Regions from separate parts of the Homo sapiens genome. Here regions 1, 2 and 3 are each linked to region 4. The links are contacts of gene promoters, found by promoter capture Hi-C in blood cells and fetal thymus (Javierre and others, 2016). All regions are on one chromosome and are shown on one strand. The core of a region is centred on a gene start or on the middle of the fragment in contact, and the rest is flanking DNA. Distances in the headings are between cores, read along the strand shown. Region 1 overlaps ABHD2 (abhydrolase domain containing 2, acylglycerol lipase). Region 2 has its middle 4.4 kb from the start of MIR3529. Region 3 overlaps LINC01586 (long intergenic non-protein coding RNA 1586). Region 4 holds the start of HAPLN3 (hyaluronan and proteoglycan link protein 3).

Region 1 (3,236 bases), core at 164-2,663, 260 kb after region 4:
TGCACAAATATTTGGGATGTTATAAGCAAATAAATTGTAATATGTTTTAATGGGAAATAACTAAAAATTATATCTATCATCTCACCATAACTATAATTTTCTATTTCTTCCAACTACCCTTCTGTCTTTATCAATGTCTACATAGTTTTTATTTATTGCAGTCATAGCATGTATATCTATGGTGATTTATTTAAATAACTCTATATTCACCAACATAAAGATGTTTAATCTGTTTAAGAGCCACATTGCTGTTACTACTCTGTTATAGTTTATTTAACCATTTATCTTTGTAGGACATATGAATTATTTAAAGTTTTTCAGCATTTTAAATAACAATGCTGTAAATACTGTGTCTTGTACATAGAATTATTTTCTCTTGAATGACCTTGGAGTAAATGCCCAGTAAAATTGCAGAGTCAACATTTTTTTATGCATATTTGTACATCTTGTCAGATTGACCTCCAGCAAGGTCATTCCAATTACGTTGCCACTGGTAACATGCAAGGGCACTGTCTCCTATAAGGGCAGGTAAGGGAAGGTCACAGGTATGGAAGCATGAACAGGTATACCTGCTTTGTGCCAAGCAGGGTGTTGGGTGCCCTGAGTTCATTTCCTCTTCTGTATTCACACCCACAGCTGAAGATACCCATTTTACAGACTCCGTTCTGTTCAGCAGTTTGGTCAGTAGCTTGAAAATATAGGTGAATTTGGCCGAGCGCAGTAGCTCAAGCCTGTAATCCCAGCACTTTGGGAGGCCAAGGCAGGCAGATCACGAGGTCAGGAGATGGAGACCATCCTGGCTAACATGGTGAAACCCCATCTCTACTAAAAATACGAAAAAGTAGCCGGGCGTGGTGGCGGGCACCTGTAGTCCCAGCTACTCGGGAGGCTGAGGCAGGAGAATGGCGTGAACCTGGGAGGTGGAGCTTGCAGTGAGCTGAGATCGCGCCACTGCACTCCAGCCTTGGTGACAGAGTGAGACTCCATCTCAAAAAATTAAAAAAAATAAATAAATAGGTGAATGTCCAGATTTACAGATAGCACAGGCACAGGGTGAATAGTGAGTATGTGGGAGACAGAATTGGACCCAAAAGTCAGAAATAGGCCAAATCAAACACAAAGAAAACAATGGGGAATAATGGTAATGTCCTGTGCTTGGATATATAGATTGTCTATACAAGTAGAAGATGGGGAGGCATGGCTTGGCTGCAGGGCCAGGATGGAGATTTGGGAGCACTAACAGTACAGTGTGAACACTTACTGTGTGCCAGTGGGAACACTTAATGTGCACCAGACACAGTACTGATGTCACATGTAGGCACAATCTCTTTTATCTCCACAGCAACCCATGGGACCGTAAAATTCTGATGAAAAAACTGAGGCATAGAGAGGTTAAGTGATTTGGGCAAGGGCACAGAGCCAGTAAGTAGAAGAGCTAAGAGAGGAGCCTGGATCTGGCTGCCGGAATCATCTCAGAGATAGCAGAGTAACTGGGTCTGTATAGTCTAGGCCTCCCAGCTCCAGAGTGCTGTACTGTTGGGGCTGTAGGCCAAAGAGACCAGATTGGAAGGCGTTACCACACCAGGTCAGGGGAGACCAGCAGCTGAAGAGCAGAGAAGAATAGGTTAAGTGCAGGCCTTGCTCCCAGAGAGTACCTGGGTCAGGAGACAGGCTCTGGATCCGATGCCCCAGCACTGCCACTGATGCTGTGTGGCTCGAGCAGTTTCTTAAACTCAGTTCCAGATTCTTCAGCTGCAGTAAGGTGGAGCTACAATTAAATGTGGGTTACTGAGGACTTGGTAGGCAGTTGATTACATATAGTAAACATTTATTGTATGTTAGGTTCATTCTTTTTGTTTTGTTTTGTTTTGTTTTTTTGAGGCAGAGTCTCACTCTGTCACCCAGGAGGGAGTGAAGTAGTGCAATCATGGCTCATTGAAGCCTCAACCTCCCAGACTCAAGCCAGCTTCCCACCTCATTTTTTAATTTTTTGTAGAGACAAGGTCTCACTATGTTGTCCAGGCTGGTCTCGAACTCCTGAGCTCAAGTGATCCACCCACTTCGCCCTCCCAAAGTGCTGGGATTACAGATGTGAGCCACCGTGCCAGCCAGGTTTATTCTTATTCAAATACTTGAAGGTATATTCATGTTGGTGAGAGATTAACCGTGCTGTTTGTGACCCAGATAAATAAGATGTGTTCTGCCAGGGAGATGTGAGTGTCGTTAAAGAATTACAATACAACGCCGGGCACGGTGGCTCATGCCTGTAATCCCAGCACTTTGGGAGGCTGAGGTGGACAGATTACCTGAGGTCAGGAGTTTGAGAGCAGCCTGGCCAACATGGTGAAACCCTGTGTCTACTACAAACACAAAAATTAGCCAGGCATGGTGGCAGGCACCTGTAATCCCAGCTACTTGGGAGCCTGAGGCAGGAGAATCACTTGAACCCAGGAGGCGGAGGTTGCAGTGAGCCGAGATCACACCACTGCACTTCAGCCTGGGCAACAGAGCGAGACTCCATCTCAAAAAAAAAGGAATTACAATACAGTGTGATGAGTGGACTAACACAGCGGGCCTGGTGAATGTGCTGCAGCAGCATGGAGAAACCAGCCTCGATCTATGGGCGAGGAGTCAAGTTGTGGGAGGAAGAATTCTCCCAGGAAAGGCATTTGAGCTGGGTTCTCAAAGATGAGCTCCTAAACAGAGGCACTCATGAACAGTTGGAGTTTGTAGACAGGGGAGTGCGCTATGGAAGGGCAACCCATGCAGAAGAGCAGCATTCACAGCTGCCTTAAGAGCACTGTATGTTTGGACTGAGGAGCTGCCTGTGAGCATGAAAAACCCTTGGAGATGAGGTGAATCCATCAGGGGAGAGCTTCAGGCCCCCAATTTTGAAAATTAACTATCTCCTTCAATTTGTGGATGGTGTTGTTACATTTTATTTCATCAGAATTTTAGAAGTAAATTTCTGTAGTTTATTATACTTTAGAAATGTTCTAGAAAGACAGGTGACCTAGAAAAAAAATGGGTGTCTTCTTCTAGCCATACTATTTGTTTTTTTGTGTGTATCAGTACATGTTTTACTTGTTAATAATTTCTTTTAACCATTGGAGGATAAGCTCAAACAAATAGGACCTTAAAAAGGTCAGAAATCCAGAATTTGGATGCTTTGTTGAAATGTAAAAATTAAAACATCTTTCGTAGCTTCAAAGAGCCTAGAGAGAGAAAGCGCTAGT
Region 2 (3,180 bases), core at 326-2,825, 280 kb before region 4:
TTAGGTAACTCCACTTTAGCGGCAATTGTCAGTCTCAGCGACAAACTACTAACACCTGGGGAGATTTAAAAACCTTCCTGTTCAGGCCCCACCCCAGACCAGTTAAATCAGAATCTTGGGGTGGGGTGTGACCCAAGCGTCTGTGGTGCTTTTTTGTTGTTGTTGTTGTTGTTGTTTTGTTTTGTTTTGTGAGATGGAGTCTCGCTCTGTCGCCCAGGCTGGAGTGCAGTGGCGCGATCTCGGGTTCACGCCATTCTACCGCCTCAGCCTCCCGAACAGCTGGGACTACAGGCGCCCGCCACCACGCCCGGCCAAATTTTTTTGTATTTTTAGTAGAGAAAGGGTTTCACTGTGCTAGCCAGATGGTCTCGATCTGCTGACCTCGTGATCCGCCCACCTCGGCCTCCCAAAGTGCTGGGATTACAGGCGTGAGCCACCGCGCCCGGCCTCGTCTGTGTTTTTTCAAGTTCAGCATGTTGAGTCAAGGCTGGGGACCACTGAATGAAGGATTAATTTTATATGTGAGGGAACTCTAGTCTAGAATGGAGCAAGGAACGGCAGAGAATAAAACTCCCCTCGATCAAATCCCTCCAGTCTTCCATTAAAAAATTAGCCGTGTGACACTTAGCCTGGGCCTGAGAATCCCGGACATTCTCAGGAGTTGGGGGAGGGTACAAAGGTACCTTAATTGTCTTGGTGCCAGGCTGTGTCCTGGTAGGTCCAAAGTCCAGCTGCTGCTGGATCAAGAGAGCTAAGAGGCGGGGAGCTGCGTGCATAAAACAAGTACCTTATTCACATTTAGCACTGGGAATGTCGTCAGCTTCATACTCTCCAACACAATGGATCCTAAACTTCGGCATGCCTCAGGATTAGCTATTTCATCAGCTTGTTAAAATGCTGGGCCCCACCCCCTAATTTTCTTAATCCTACCCCTTGACTTTCTGGGCCTCATCCCCTGACTTTCTGGGCCCCACAGCCTGATTTTCTGATTCAGTAGGTCCAACAAACTCCCAGGTAAATGCCCATGCTGCTGGGCTAGGACGACACGTGGAGAACAATTGCTCTAAAAATTGAGCAGATCAACACTCTCTTTCAAGTCTGCACCTGGCCCAGCACCATGGGGATCCCCACAGTACCCCCAAAAAGTCCTCAGAATGAGTACACAGGGCAGGCAGAATGGCACTCTGACTGTAGCATAATGATTTGTAAATGCAAAACAGGTCAAGTCCTGTCTCAAGTGTTTTCAGATTGAAAATGCGGAGGGGGAAATGATGGGGTCCTTGAAGTCAGAGCTTGGATCATGGGTTTTTCCCCACCAGGCCCCAGCCTAAACAAGCTCTGTTATAAAGGAGCCCTCGTCTTTGTGGAAGGAGGCGTTTTTTGTTTTTTTTTCTTCAAGATGGAGCCTTGCTCTGTCATCCAGGCTGAAGTGCAGTGGCGCCATCTCGGCTCACTGCAACCTCTGCCTCCCGGGTTCAAATGATTCTCCTTCCTCAGCCTTCTGAGTAGCTAGGATTACAGGCAAGTGTCACCATGCCCGTCTAATTTTTGTATTTTTAGTAGAGATGGAGTTTCACCGTGTTGGTCAGGGTGGTCTTCAACTTCTGAACTTGTGATCCACCAGCCTCTGCTTCCCAAAGTGTTGGGATTACAGGCGTGAGCCACCGCACCTGGCCTAGGAGGGAATATTTTTATTCAATCCAGGGGCAGCCTCTGGGTAGAAGGGAAGGGCTGACTTGGTTCAGCAAGGTCAAGAGCCTTGCCAAAAGTCACACAGCTAGCAGAAGTTGGAGGGTGAGTTTAGTGGTTTCCCTAAGAAAGAAGGGGTATGGGTATTACCATCCACAGTCAAGATGACAGTGTGAGACCACCCTTACTGAATACCTGGGACATCAAGTTTTTTTACTTAGCAATTTTTTTATGATAAATGTAAGTATAGATGGTCCCTGACCTACAATGGCTCAATTTAACATTTTTCAACTTTACAATAGTGCAAAAGCAATACACATTTAGTAGAAACCTTACTTCAAGTGTCCATACATTCTGTTTTTTATTTTCAGTACAGTCGTGAATAAATTATGTGACATGTTCAGTACTTTATTATAACATTTGTGTTAGATGATTTTGCCCAACTGTAGGCCAATGTAAATGTTGTAAGTACATCTAAGGTATGTCAGGCTAAGCTATAGACGTTTGGTAGGTTAGATGTATTAAGTGCATTTTCAACTTGTGAATTATAGTGGGTTTATCCGGACATGGCCTCATTGTTAAGTCACAGAGCATCTGTTAATATGGACATCTTAAAAAGACGTCATTAAATGAACGCAATGGAGTCTAAATATCATAATGATTTGATACAAATATTATTCATTTTCATTTATTTATTTTTTGTAGAGGTGGGGTCTCACTATGTTGCCCAGGCTGGAGGGTAACACAATCATAGTGCACTGTGGTCTCAAACTCCTGCCCTTCTCAAGTGATCCTCCCACCTCAGCCTCCAAAGTAGCTGGGACTACAGGCATGTGCCACCTTGCCTAGCTTCTTTATTTATTTATTGAGACAGAGTCTTGCACTGTTGCCCAGGCTGGAGGGCAGTGGTGCAATCTTGGCTCGCTGCAACCTCTATCTCCGGGGTGCAGGAGATTCTCATGCCTCAGCCTCCTGAGTAGCTGGGATTATAGGTGCCCACGACCATACCTAGGTAATTTTTGTGTTTTAGTAGAGACAGGATTTCACCATGTTGGCCAGGCTGGTCTCAAACTTGAGACCTCAGGTGATTCACCCGCCTTGGCCTCCCAAAGTGTTGGAATTACAGGCGTGAGCCACAGCGCCCGGCCTTCATTTTTAAAGTACATGAAAAAACTATTTATGACAATGTTGAGTTTTACCTAAGCACTGTGCTCCTAGAGAACAGCAATGATTAACCCCTTACCCCCTAACCCCACCTCAACCCCGTCTCTCGGGTTCTGGAAATGGCTCACTGCAATGACTGAGATAAAACTCATGGATTCCCCTCTATGGCGATTCCCCACTATACCCTGTTACTAGACCGGATACAGATAGCCCCAATTCCCATTTGCCTCATAAGTGACTAGCTGAAATGCTTGGCCCATTGATCAGCTGGAAAAAAATGCTCATTAATGAAACTTTGGTTAAGCTTTTGTCCTTCCCCAAGGCCTC
Region 3 (3,177 bases), core at 645-3,144, 300 kb before region 4:
CATTTCACAGCAGCATTTTGAAGATGTCATCTTGATCTTAATTTTAGCTAGTGAAAACCAGTAACAATTCATCTATTGTTTCTTATTAGGAAATATTAAATGAGATAGTCGATATCTCATAAGACTGGAATCATACAGCATTTGTCTTTTTGTGACTGGCTTATTTCAGTTAGCATAATGTCCACAATGTTCATTCTTATTTTTACCTGTGTCAGAATTTCCTTCCTTTATAAGGCTGAGTAATATTCCATTATATATGCATACCACATTTTGCTTATTCATTCAGCCATCAGTAGACACTTGAGCTGCTGCCCTCTTTTTTCTTTCTCTCTTTCTTTCCTTCCTTTCTTTCTTTCTTCCTTCCTTTCTTTCTTCCCTTCTTTCTATTTATTTATTTATTTATATATTTTATTTATTTATATTTTGTCAGGGTCTCACTCTGTTGCCCAGGCTGGAGCACAGTGACATCATCTTGGCTCACTGCAACCTCTGCCTCCTAGATTCAAGTGATCCTCCCACCTCAGCCTCCTAAGTAGCTGGGACTACAGGCACATCCCACCACACCCAGCTAATTTTTATATTTTTTTGGTAGAGGCAGGGTTCCTCCATGTTGCCCAGGCTGGTCTCAAACTCCTGGGCTCAAGCAATCTGCCTGCCTGGGCCTCCCAAAGTGCTGAGATTAGAGGTGTGAGCTGTCGTACCTGGCCTCCATCTTTTGGCTATTGTGAATGGTGGTATATAAACCTGGGTCTACAAACATAGAATCACCTCCTTTCTAACTTTAAAGGCCGGGCGCGGTGGCTCACGCCTGTAATACCAGCACTGTGGGAGGCCGAGGCAGGTGGATCACAAGGGCAGGAGATCAAGACCATCCTGGCTAACATGGTGAAACCCCGTCTCTACTAAAAATACAAAAAAAAATTAGCCGGGCATGGTGGCGGGCGCCTGTAGTCCCAGCTATTCGGGAGGCTGAGGCAGGAGAATGGCATGAACCCGGGAGGCGGAGCTGGCAGTGAGCCGAGATCGTGCCACTGCACTCCAGCCTGGAGGACAGAGCGAGACTCTGTCTCAAAAAAAAAAAAAAAAGAATAGCTCTGTGTCACTTATAGAATTGCCCGGGTTACTTTGGCCATTAAAAGTATCACAGTAACCAAGATATTTATAATTCTCTATTATTGGATTTTAATTTCCTAGAGGTAAGCAGAGTCAAAATTCTAAAAGAACTTCTTTCTGAACTGGTGTCACTATATATTCACTATTGCCAAAATTATGTTTTCTTTTTCAAGAACAGCCTTCTCTGGTCTTCAGATATGACAAAATCCATCAGGTACTTGGTTGGTCCTTGAAATTAAATTTTAAAACTCTCTTGGTAATCTGGCAAAGGTTTAGAAATATTTGCTACACAATTGGGATGAAAGATGAGAGATCCAAGGTTTCTTAGAATGCCCGACGTGTGTGGGAGGTGAGTGTGATGACTTCATTCACTACACTGTTCTCTAATTCCACATTTGAGGTGTGTGGTTGTTGGCACAAGACAGGTGCCTCCTTAGCCATCCATAGCAAGCAAGTCTTTTAGCACCTGTAATCCAGTCTCCTTTCCAGAAAAGCTTCATTCTAAAATGTCAACCCATCTAGAAACTCAGTAATGTCTCCAAGATGCCTGACCCTCACAGAATCTTTTGACCTCTGGTCCATGGTTTGTCAATTCCAAGAAATGAATGCATGAGAATATTGAGGAAACTGGCAGTGTCAAGGTTTATCTTTATTTGGCTAATGGCGATGACAGTAAGGTCGGCTGAGCTGCCAATCTGTCCTCCAATTAAGTTCTAATCTGAAGAAGAATTGTTGTCCATGATTAAACTCCCACTGTCCTATGAAAAGGGAGTGTCTAGAAGTCAAATTCAAGATGGATCCACCACTTATCAGCTGTGTGGCTTCTGGCACGGCACCTAAAGAATAAACAAACCTGGAGAAAATAACACCTATCTCACAGAGCTGTGATAATTAAATTTAAGGGGGGTTTTTTGGTAGTAGTTGCTATAAAGTTATGTAAAACATTGTGTTGGAGAGCATTGAAAAATGTGAAGTACTATTAAAAATGTAAAAGAAATATTATTATTGTTTTGATTATTATTTGAGGTGTGGAAGGAAGTGGCCAGAAAGTAGATACCAGGAACAGAAGCAAGCTTATTGAGGAGGAGGACAAGGGCAGCTGGGCTGATGATGTATCTGAGTTGAGTAAAAACCAAATGCCTCTTATCAGCTCTTTACAGATAAGGTCAAACTCTCTCATGGTCACCTAATACCCCAGGCAAGATCTGCAGCAACCTGCACAGGTCTGAGACCCAGGCTCCACACCTGCTCTGATTATGCCCATCTGGAACAGTGCCAGATAAGGAATAGATGCCTAATAAATACCATCTACTCCCATATTTGTATCATACTATATTTTAATTATAGAAACTACCTAATCATGTTTCAGAAAATTTGGAAAACATGATAAAAAGAAAACATTTAAAAGCCACCTGTGATCTCTTTAACAGAAACTTTATCATACTTTGATGTACTTCTGTTCTATTTTTTCTATATATGTGCTTTCTAAAGACCTTACTTTAATGATATCTGTAAAGACAGTTCTATGTTCTGCTAATTTCCTTCCTTAACATTATGAGTATTTTCTTGGCTCATGTTTCAGCAAAAACATTAATTTTAGAGTTGGTAGAATATTCTATCCATTCAACAGATGATGTGCCAGTCTCCTATTGTTGGATATTATGTTGCTTCCATTTTAAAAAATATTAAACAATGTGACAATGGACACCTTTATGTATCTAACATTTTCTGTATTGAATATTATTTTATTTATTTGAGACAGAGTTTCCCTCTTGTTGCCCAGGCTGGAGTACAATGGTGCCATCTTGGCTCACTGCAACCTCTGCCTCTCGGGTTCAAGTGATTCTCCTGCCTCAGCCTCCCAAGTAGCTGGGATTACAGGCATGTGCCACCACGCCCTGCTAATTTTGTATTTTTAGTAGAGACGGGGTTTCTCCATGTTGGTCAGGCTGGTCTTGAACTCCCGACCTCAGGTGATCCATCTGTCTCGGCCTTCCAAAGTGCTGTGATTACAGGCGTGAGCCACTGCAGCAGCCCAAGATTATTTTATTAAGATATCCCAAA
Region 4 (3,288 bases), core at 45-2,544:
TGTCAAATATCTCGAACTTAGAGAAAGTTCAGGTTTCCTGATGACCAGCCCTTTGCTTTTCCCAGGCGCCCCAGCCTAGGGACCCCTCCACCCAAGAACAATAAGCCTGGGCTTGGAGGGAGGGTAGGTGCCACCTCCCTGCCAGGTGCATGTCCGCACTGGGCCTTCCGTGAGTACAAGTCCCCCAGGTACCAGCAGGAGGCAGCATCGCCCGCGAGGTCTGCACGAGCGCTGCTCCCAGCGAGAAATTTGACATCCCTGTCCCTGTTTGCACAAGGCTTGATCTCCGCCTTTGAAACCTGCAGCCCCCAGGAGAATGAAAACCGGAGGTGTTTCCCAATCCGCTGGCCCGGGCGGCGTCGAGGGAGAGAAGCCAGGGCCCCTCTCAATCGCTGCCCCCTACTCCAGGGAGCACAGGCACTCCCGCGGGTCAGCGCTGGACACCAAGGTCCCAACAGGTTTACAGGCTGCCTGTGGCCTGTGGCTGCCAACGAGCTGGTGGCAGGACTGGGTCCAAGTGCCGTGCTGTTTCCATACTGGCTGCGCACAAGCCTACGTTTCTCCCTGAGGGTCGCCATCTCCCACCCAGGGCTCTGCCCTCCACCCTCCCTACCCTTCTGGCCTCGCTGTCCCTGGGGCAAGAACCCCGGTGAGCGAGGTCTGGAACCCATAGGCATCAGTTGCCTTTGCCCCAGGCGCCCAGAGCCGGCCAGCTGCGGTCCAGAGGCGCAGGTCCGCCAGCCGCCTCGCAGGTTGCCCTCAGCCCCTCCCAGGACTCCCGGGGCCCCCGGAGCATCCAACAGATACCCAGGGGCAGGGCCTGGGGCGCCGCGGACGGCACTGGAGGCAGCCGACCCTGGACAGACGACAGGGGAGAGAGCCAAGCGGACCCTGGCAGGAAGGGGGCTGGAGGCGGACGGTGGTCTCGGAGGCCACGGGGTCCGCTCGGGCTCTGCTCCCTCACGGTGGGCACGAGGGTCCGGCGCCCGCATCCCCGCGCCGCTCCCTCCCCACTTGTGCCCCGGGCGCCCCTCGCCCGCGATCACAGCCCATCTCAGCCCGGGCCTCCGCAGTGCCCGGCCCACGCCTCCTGCCCCTTCCCCGGACCCTGCCCGGGAGGTGTGGGGACCCGCAGGGCACCCAAAGCGGTAAGGGAGGAACCCGGCCCGCACACAGCCCCAGAAGCCCAGCGACCCCTAAGCCACGTACCGTCCCCAGGCAGCTCCTCGACGGCTAGAGCTCTCGGGGGCCGCGAGCTGTCCCGGTCCAAGGCAGCAGTCTGATTTCGGGGAAATTAAAAGGGCAGAAAGGAAGCGGCAGCAGAAAAACCCCCGCGCTCCCGCCAGACCAGCCCCTTAAAGGAACACGCGCACCTTTCCCTCCCAAGGGCTGGGCTCGAAGGGAGGAGCTGCTGCAGGCTTGAGCGGTCTCCAGACTCGCTGGGAACCACCGCAAAGAGGGTGTGCAAGAGTTGAGGCCCTCACGTCTTGGGAAAGGAGAGTAGGGGTGGAATAGGAGAGTTTGGGGAGGGGGGATCCCCTTAGAAAGCCTGGTATACCAAAAACAGTGGGAGTAAGCAGGGGAAGCCCCTGTCCAGCATTCTGCTAGGGGCTAAGGCTGCTCCCCACCTTTGATTGTGGAAGGGGTGAGACTTCTGTATTACTTTCTTTTCCAAATAGAAAGCAAGGGGGTGAGGCCAGGTGCAGTGAGTGGCTCATGCTTGTAACCCCAGCACTTTGGGAGGTGGAGGCCGGTGGATCACCTGAGGTCAGGAGTTCAAGACCAGCCTGGGCAACATGGTGAAACCCTGTCCCTACTAAAAATACAAAATTAGCTGGGCGTGGTGGAGCATGCCTGTAATCCCAGCTACTTGGGAGGCTGAGGCAGGAGAATTGCTTGAACCCAGGAGGCGGAGGTTGCAGTGAGCTGAGATCATGCCATTGTGCTCCAGCCTGGGCAACAAGAGCAAAACTCCGTCTCAAAAAAAAAAAAAAAAAAAAAGCAAGGGGTTGCTGATGTCCTCATGCCCCTGAGTTTGGCCATCATGAAACACTGGCCAGATTCCCAACTCACTGTCAGGCACATAGCAGGTGCTATCCCCAGCACATGGGGCTTGAATGAGTGGCCCTGGCTGGGAGGGGAGACACAGGGTGGGATACCTCTGCAGCCTGCAGGGGCAATCAGGCTTCTGAGTGGTCCTCCAACAGGGGTGGGCCTCCCTTCGGAATCCTGCTAATCAGCACAGCCATCCAGGCAGCCGCTCAGGATGCCTCTGTTTGGACAGGGTGTTTTCTTTCCTGTCCAGACCAATGGGGGCCCTGGCCTGGACAGCCCGATGTTTCCTCAGCAGAAAAGACTAAGGAGGTCCTTCAGCTTTGGCTGGGGGAAGGGTCGAAGGGTCACAGGGTCACAGAGCTCAGAGCCTCTTCCTAAACACAGCTCAAGTTGGCCCATGAGTGTGTGTGTGTGTGTGCATGTGTGTGTGTTACACACAGCCAGGGGCACATTGGAGCACAAAGAACTGTGATCAACAGGTAAACTACACCTAAAAGGAACGCCAGGCTTGATGGGCAAAGGGGAGCCAAGGTAGGTCCCTCTGCAGGTTCCCGACAGGGGAGAGGATGGACAGTAGGGAGAGCACATTTTGCTACAGTTAAGTCGAGTTGAACATGCCAGCCAGGGGTAGGGGTAGCCAGCAGGTGGAATCTGAACGCTCACCCTCTGCCTTGCAGTGGGGCAGAAAAAAGTCAATGTGTAGGGGTGATGGTAAAAGCTGGGCAAATGGAAGACACTGCTGAGGGAGAGAAGCCAAGGAAGGAAGGAGGGGGTCAGGAGTGAGGGGACTCCACTCCAGGGTCCCAGGAGGGGGACTTTTAGAAGGCTGTGGCCAACCCATCCCAGAGCAGAGATGCTTCTCCCACTGTCTGCTTATCCCCAGGGTATGCTGGAACAGGGGTTCAGGGCAGGAAACTCCCCCGGGAGGGAGACCTGAGGCTTGGAAGCACGCAGAAAGGCTTGGCTCTAAACCCAATCCACACCGCTCCGCAGAAGAGAGCTCTGAAACGGGAGGCAGTAGGCCAAGGGACACCCAGGGGAAGGGAGTCCCCCATCCTCAGTTCCTACGAAGACCACGGCCTGGGCCTTTTATTCAGACCCTGCTAGGCCCAGGAGCCCAGCAACCGCAGGTCTCAGAAAGGAACCACTTCCAGACACATTTCCCTGATGTGGTTCCAGCAAAGCCACGCCCTCCCTTTGGCAGCCCTGTGGCCCCACCTCCTGCTGCTCAGA

What was found. The method cuts DNA at HindIII sites, captures the fragments that hold promoters and counts their contacts. A CHiCAGO score of 5 or more calls a contact.
Region 1: a fragment that was not itself captured here is called in contact with the fragment with the promoter of HAPLN3 in region 4 in 1 of 17 cell types (naive CD8 T cells); the score reaches 6.4 in naive CD8 T cells.
Region 2: a contact is called between a fragment that was not itself captured here and the fragment with the promoter of HAPLN3 in region 4, in 5 of 17 cell types (total CD8 T cells, naive CD8 T cells, naive CD4 T cells and 2 more). The highest score is 9.3, in total CD8 T cells.
Region 3: a fragment that was not itself captured here is called in contact with the fragment with the promoter of HAPLN3 in region 4 in 9 of 17 cell types (naive CD8 T cells, total CD8 T cells, naive B cells and 6 more); the score reaches 10.7 in naive CD8 T cells.

What each region holds. Positions count from the first base shown.
Region 1 is chr15:89,156,853-89,160,088 of GRCh38, forward strand. All of the region lies in intron 5 of ABHD2 (abhydrolase domain containing 2, acylglycerol lipase), which reads left to right. Among named protein-coding and RNA genes, the nearest start is that of RLBP1, 63 kb to the right of the region's middle. The HindIII fragment of the contact is 5,010 bases long and covers 1-3,236 here.
Region 2 is chr15:88,614,716-88,617,895 of GRCh38, forward strand. It overlaps a transcript of AEN not described here. Among named protein-coding and RNA genes, the nearest start is that of MIR3529, 4.4 kb to the left of the region's middle. The HindIII fragment of the contact is 3,159 bases long and covers 1-3,155 here.
Region 3 is chr15:88,598,357-88,601,533 of GRCh38, forward strand. The region is part of intron 2 of LINC01586 (long intergenic non-protein coding RNA 1586); the gene reads right to left. Among named protein-coding and RNA genes, the nearest start is that of LINC01586, 5.2 kb to the right of the region's middle. The HindIII fragment of the contact is 579 bases long and covers 1,606-2,184 here.
Region 4 is chr15:88,894,250-88,897,537 of GRCh38, forward strand. HAPLN3 (hyaluronan and proteoglycan link protein 3) reads right to left here and starts at 1,295. Exons shown (of 5, transcript NM_178232.4): 1 at 1,210-1,295. RefSeq lists enhancers at 521-1,132, 3,129-3,288. The HindIII fragment of the contact is 19,838 bases long and covers 1-3,288 here.